2 separate regions of the Homo sapiens genome follow, and region 2 is linked to region 1. The links are contacts of gene promoters, found by promoter capture Hi-C in human tissues and cell types (Jung and others, 2019). All regions are on one chromosome and are shown on one strand. The core of a region is centred on a gene start or on the middle of the fragment in contact, and the rest is flanking DNA. Distances in the headings are between cores, read along the strand shown. Region 1 holds the start of CTSV (cathepsin V). Region 2 has its middle 24 kb from the start of SUGT1P4-STRA6LP-CCDC180.

Region 1 (3,358 bases), core at 610-3,109:
GAAACTGCAGGATTGGATACAGCTCCATGTTTGCCTTATTTGAACATGGTTTGAACAACTGAACCTCTTTGATTTACAGAAATTCGGGGATAGGCACAAGAGCAGGCTACAGTCTGTTTACACCTCCATTTAGATTACAATTCGCTATGTACAGAGAAACCTTTAGGCCAAACTTAAATCACATGGGGAGGCAGCTTTAGGCTAAACTTGATTTCACAAATTTTCAAATTAACAAGTAAAAACTGTGGATATTATTCAATTTAATCTTTAAGAGTTTATTAATCAATATGCATTATAACTTCATTTTTGTAAAAACAAAAAAAGATATGCCTAGAAAAGGGTTATGGAGAGGGCACAAGGGACGTTTATTTTCTAAAACATATTTTTTATAATGGATTTTTTTATATAACTTTAAAAAGAATTAGAAACGTTTCTGAATTATTAATGATTTCCTTAAATCTTTAGCTACATATATTTCTCCATAAAGAGCAGTTCCTCAAACTGCATCACCTCAACCCTGATATTATATATTTTTATTTTTATTTTTATTTTTTGAGACAGAGTTTCGCTCTGTCACCAGTCTGGAGTGCAGTGGCACGATCTCAGCTCACTGCAACCTCCGCCTCTCGGGTTCAAGCAATTCTCCTGCCTCAGCCTCCTGAGTAGCTGGGACTACAGGCGCCCGCCACCACGCCCAGCTAATTTTTGCATTTTTAGTAGAGACAGGGTTTCACCATGTTGGCCAGGATGGTCTCGATATCATGACCTCGTGATCCGCCCGCCTCGGCCTCCCAAAGTGCTGGGATTACAGGTGTAAGCCACCGCGCCCGGCCGGTATTAAACATTTTTAAAGTAAATTTATTAAATCTCAAAAGAAGCACACTTTGAATACTGAGGAAGAGACGTTGTAACCCATAAGCAGAGAGTAGGTAAGTAAAAGCAATTTCCACCACTCTCAGACTGGGCGTAGTGGCTCACGCCTGTAATCCCACCACTTTTGGGAGGCTGAGAGGGGAGGATCGCTTGAGGCCAGGAATTCAAGAGCAGCCTAAGGAAACTTAGCCAAACTCCATTTCTACAAAAGAAAAATTTTTAAAGCAATTTATTTCACCATTCTCAACGCTTTTCTCTTTTTTATTAACCAAATATTTCTGTAACTCTTTTTTTTTTTTTTTTTTTTTTTTTTGGTATTGAAAGACATGGGAGAAGGAAGAATTCCTGAATGCAACAGACTGGGAAGGACGCACCACAAAACGCTCCGCGGTCTCTGGACACCCTATCAGCTAGTCCCGTCCCTCCTGGTGTCCGGTCTCGACCATCCATCCCGTGTTTTGGGAGTGCCTTTCCTTACCAGATTCTTCTAAAGCCCTGATGCACCCACCCTTAAGTGGAAGGTAATGCTTCTGCTGGGGGCTGTGCGTTCTTCCACTCCGTCCCACCTTTGCCGTGGACTAAACAGGAGCCACTGAACGAGAGTACCCTGGCTCCCGGCCCTGCAGATTTTCACCAAAAACTCTAGGACTAAGTTAAAGTAGGGACTGAAATACCACACAGAGCTCGCTGTAAACCACCCGCTCAGCGCAGTAAGTCGGGATAGTCAGTAGATCTGAGCCCTTGAGGGAGGCGCCTCCCCCTCCTCCGCGCAGCCCCCGGGCGCCCGGCCCAGCTTCCCGCAGCCAGGGTGTATTGAGGTAGGCGCGCCCAGACCTGAGACGGGTTGGGACTGGGCTGCGTCACGCGCGGGCTCTAAGCGCCCGGGGCCCCGCCCAGTGGCCGGCACAGCCAATCGCAGCGCGGGAAGGCGGTGGGGGCGGGGAAGGCCGCCTGGAAACTTAAATCCCGAGGCGGGCGAACCTGCACCAGACCGCGGACGTCTGTAATCTCAGAGGCTTGTTTGCTGAGGGTGCCTGCGCAGCTGCGACGGCTGCTGGTGAGCGCCCCCGACCAGACCGAGGGACAGGGCGAAGGGGGACTGGAGGAGGGAACCCCCCTTTAGGGACACTGAGAGGAGGCGGGCGCTTCTGGGAGTGAGAGCTTCTGCCCGGAGCTCTGCCAGCCTCGAGGTGGGGAACGGGGGAGGGCGGTTGGAGACCCCAGGGAGGCGCCGGCACCACTGGGAGGGCCCGGGCGGGGCAGGTCAGTCATCCTGTGGGCTGAAGCCGGACCGGACCGGGCGGCTTCATGCCCCCAGCCTGGCCGCGGAGCCCCCGCTCCCTGCACCGCCGCAAACATTCTCGGGGCGCGGCGGCGCGTGCAGAGGGCGAGAGCAGGCGGTGCGGCCCCGGTCCTGGCCCGCCCGGAGCTCCGGGAGCTGCCTGCCTCGGTCCGGGCCCTGGCCCTGGGGCCCCTGGCTTCCAGCGGCGCGGCCTTGTGACCCTGCCCCGGTTTAGGGGAGCGAGTAGCACAGACCCAAGTGTGGGACGGCGGGAATAGTGGGTGCTCTCCTTCCCAGTGTCTCCTGGAAAGGGATTCCCGAAAGGTTTTATTCCAAAAGGAGAGGTTGGAAGACATAGCTCATCTCCTGCTGTGTATCAGCCAAGAAGGTGTGAGGTGGTGTTCCTTGGGGATCCGCTTGCATCTACTTGGGATGGTACGTCTTCATTAGTGAGGTTTTGCCTGGATGACCTCAGTACAATTGGTGCAAAACCTGGACCAACTCTTTCCTAGTTTTCTAGTTGTTGCCTTAAGCTTCTCACCCGTCAGGTATCTTTCACACCCTTCTCATACCCTAAATTATCGCATATGCTGTTTCAACGCCTCCAACTCTGCAGGCTGCTTTTAATTTTGGTGGGCCCATCAAATACCTCCACTTGGCCTGTTTCAGCCTCTTCCACAGTCCTTGGGGAAATGCTAGGGAGAATAATTGAAATATTTCTATTCCACGGGGGCTGTAAGATGGCTTTTTAGGATTGGTCTAATCAGATACTCATTTCTTTTCTCTTTCTAGGTTTTGAAACATGAATCTTTCGCTCGTCCTGGCTGCCTTTTGCTTGGGAATAGCCTCCGCTGTTCCAAAATTTGACCAAAATTTGGATACAAAGTGGTACCAGTGGAAGGCAACACACAGAAGATTATATGGCGCGGTTGGTAACATCTGAAACTGTCCAGAGGGACTCTGGAGAGAATGGTCCTCGCTGTTGGGAGTTGATAGCCAGAGAGTAGCTTCTAGACACCAGACCTTACCAGGCAATAACCTAACAGCACCCATTATAGGTGCAATATGGGCATATATCTCCATTGTGTCTTGGCTTGGAGAACAGCTCCCAGAGAAGTATCAACCCATCCCTGGCCATGGTTTCTCTTCCATTTCTGCCCGCAAATCGGCTTGGTGAACATGGGTTGGGTAAGTAGACATAAA
Region 2 (3,358 bases), core at 479-2,978, 180 kb before region 1:
GGGAGGGCTAGTCACGGAACGAAACTGTAAGTCGGACCAGGTGTGAGGATGGGAGGTGATAAAAAGATTATAGGGTGGAGGAGCAGAGGCTGAGGAAGAATTGGGACCTAGCTCGGCCTGGCGAGGAGCAGCCTGGGGAGGAAGGGAGAGGTCAGATGGGTCTGTAGAAAAGGAAGATTAGAAAGACTCAGCAACACTTGGGGTTGGTACTGAGGGGACAGGCGGGAGGGAAAGAAGGAAGATTTGGGACGAGTTGCACTGGGCACAGAGACTAGGAAGGGACTGATGTGTAAAAGAATGCCTGGACGTCAGGCACCTCAGACCGTTTGCCTATTTTATGACAAGAATTATTTAGATCTTGCAGGATGGAAAAATTCAAAGTGCCATTTTCTGGCTATTTGGAACTACTGTCGAGTTTGTATTGGGGTCAAGCGGCATTGCAGAAGAAAATAAGGCATTTAGGTTTTAGGTCAGGTGTGAGTTGAAGAGGTTTTAAGTTTTTGAGAACACAGGCTAAGGGAGAAGAAGGAGGAATGGAAGGTGGAAGCTTACCTTTAGTGAAGGAGGCAAGCATAGAGAAAAGAGTAGAGACACGGAGAAGGGGTGGGGGGTTCTTGCCCTCCAGAAAAGCAGAGAAGGGGTTGGGGCACAGAAATAAGGGATTGGGGCACAGAGATAAGAGGTCAGGGTGCAGAAATAAGGGATTGAAGCACAGAGATAAGAGGTTGGGGTGCGGAAATAAGTGATTGGGGGTTCTTGCCTCCTAGGAAAGCGGGACTTGCTGCTAAGGGTGAAGGAGAAGGGGTTGGGGGTACTTGCCCCTGCCCCAGGAAAGCGGGACTTGCCGCTGAGGGTGAAGGGGAAGGGGTTGGGGTACTTGCCCCTGCCCCAGGAAAGCGGGACTTGCCGCTGAGGGTGAAGGGGAAGGGGTTGAGGGGTACTTGCCCCTGCCCCAGGAAAGCGGGACTTGCCGCTGAGGGTGAAGGGGAAGGGGTTGAGGGGTACTTGCCCTTGCCACTAAGGGTGAAGGACCAAGGCAGGTGTCCCTGCGTGGTCTGACACCCTTGAAACGTGAGTGTATAATCAGAGAGGCGTCTCTGCAATGATTAAACACCAAGGGAAGGCTGCCTTCCTAGTCCATGACCGGCGCTGGAGTTTTGGGTTCACGGATAAAACATGTCTCTTTTGTCTCTACCAGAAAATGAAAGGAATTGAAATTAAGAGAAGGGAGAGATTGAAGTGTGGCGCCAAGATTGAAAGGAGAAAGAGGTTGAGGGATAGTGAGGGAGGTCGGAGAAGAGAGTAAAAAGAGGCCGCTTACCGGATTTGAAATTGGTGAGATGTTTCTTGGGCTGGTCGGTCTGAGGACCCGAGGTCGTAGGTGGATCTTTCTCATGGAGCAAAGAGCAGGAGGACAGGGGATTGATCTGCCAAGGGAGGTCCCCCGATCCGAGTCACGGCACCAAATTTCATGTGTGTCCGTGTGAAGAGACCACCAAACAGGCTTTGTGTGAGCAACATGGCTGTTTATTTCACCTGGGTGCAGGTGGGCTGAGTCCGAAAAGAGAGTCAGCCAAGGGAGATAAAGGTGGGGCCGTTTTGTAAGATTTAGGTAGGTAAAGGAAAATTACAGTCAAAGGGGGTTTGTTCTCTGGCGGGTAGGAGTTGGGGTCGCAAGGTGCTCAGTGGGCAGGAGTAGGGGTTGCAAGGTGCTCAGTAGGGGTGCTTTTTGAGCCAGGAAAAGGACTTTCACAAGGTAATGTCATCAGTTAAGGCAAGGACCGGCCATTTACACTTCTTTTGTGGTGGAATGTCATCAGTTAAGGTGGGGCAAGGCATATTCACTTTTTTTGTGATTCTTCAGTTACTTCAGGCCATCTGGGCGTATACGTGCAAGTCACAGAGGATGCGATGGCTTGGCTTAGGCTCAGAGGCCTGACAGATAACACACCTGAAAAATATTTACCATATATATTTTTACTAATATATAAAAATATGTATTCAGATGAAAAGTGTATCTTCATCCTACAGGGAATTTATTCTTTATTATATATAATATATATATTACTGATTATATGTATAACAAATTGTATGTATTACTAATATAATGTTATATATATCAGTTATATATATATACAGATAAAAAGCACAACTTTATTTTACAGGGAATTCTTTCCAATCAAATCCGAAAGAAAAGAAGTCTAAAAGTGAGCAAAGTACTTTTTGCAGATCCACAAGTTACTTATGTACATAGGAAAAATTCCTTAGTGTTTCTCATAAGAGAATTTAAGTTAAAAGAGGAATGAGACTGTTTTCCATCCACAGTGTTTGTGAGAATAAAGAGCAGTGGCACTTACACTGCTGCTTGAAGTTTAACTTGCTGATGACTTTTCAAGTGGATAATTTGGAGATAATTACCACATTTTAAAAATGTATATGCCCTTTACCCATCAATTCCATTGTAATAAAATACCTTCAGAAAATAGAGATACATGCACTTTTTTCCCCAGCATTTATGTTAACAAGAACCCATAGAACGGATATGTGGCCATTGAAGGTGGCAATAGGTAGAGAAGTATGTTGATGTGTGAAAATGCATTTTGTTACAGCCAGTGAGGAAAAAGAAATCAGTTTGCTTGCACATACACACAAACATACTATGGTCTGGTGTTAGGTAAAACTATGTACAAAATAGGATAAAATTTGTAACTTCTGAGCATTTGTATTTTAAAGTTTTTTGTTCCTTTTTCTTACGTTTGATTTCTGAAGTGAGCATTTATAAAATTTCTAGTAAAAATATATTATTAATGGAATAAATTTTGGGAAGAGAGAAATGTGAATCTTGTATAGATAAAAATAATTTCTCACTATTTTTTATCATTATTATTGTGAGGGTTGTTATCTTGTTTGAACTTTTAGCTTCTTCAGAAGTAAAAAGGGAATCTTTTTATCTGCTTGCAGATTTTATGTATATACTTTATTATGTGTATATGTTTTTCTTATGTATAGATTCATTACATATAGGCAAACAATGATAGATTAATAATTTCATTATAGTTGTAGTCTTATAAAAATAACAAATAGCAAATATTATTACTATCACAAAAATATTGGTTTATAGAAGTTGTATTTAAAAATATTGAGCTCCCCAACTCTATTCTATCAATCCATTTATTCATCAAACATAACCTGAATATGTTATGTAGCAGACTTTTTGCACTATCTCCCAGGACCCTTCCATACTTAAAAACTTTGTTTACCTGTTCTGCCTCAGCAAGATGAGAGATTTAAAATGGGAATAGTAGGACTTAATCTTATTGAAGCTTTTCCTCCCACCTTTCAAGCAAAAGCATTTCTG

The links. The method cuts DNA at HindIII sites, captures the fragments that hold promoters and counts their contacts. A contact is called where the count stands out against the background at its distance.
Region 2: a contact is called between a fragment that was not itself captured here and the fragment with the promoter of CTSV in region 1, in 1 of the 25 tissues and cell types used here (heart right ventricle).

The regions. Positions count from the first base shown.
Region 1 is chr9:97,037,643-97,041,000 of GRCh38, reverse strand. It overlaps CTSV (cathepsin V), which reads left to right and starts at 1,859. Exons shown (of 8, transcript NM_001333.4): 1 at 1,859-1,930; 2 at 2,948-3,083. The coding sequence starts at 2,958. RefSeq lists a silencer at 1,515-1,824. The HindIII fragment of the contact is 6,962 bases long and covers 1-3,358 here.
Region 2 is chr9:97,213,077-97,216,434 of GRCh38, reverse strand. It overlaps the pseudogene ANKRD18CP. Among named protein-coding and RNA genes, the nearest start is that of SUGT1P4-STRA6LP-CCDC180, 24 kb to the left of the region's middle. RefSeq lists enhancers at 1,101-1,664, 1,665-2,230. The HindIII fragment of the contact is 4,674 bases long and covers 1-3,358 here.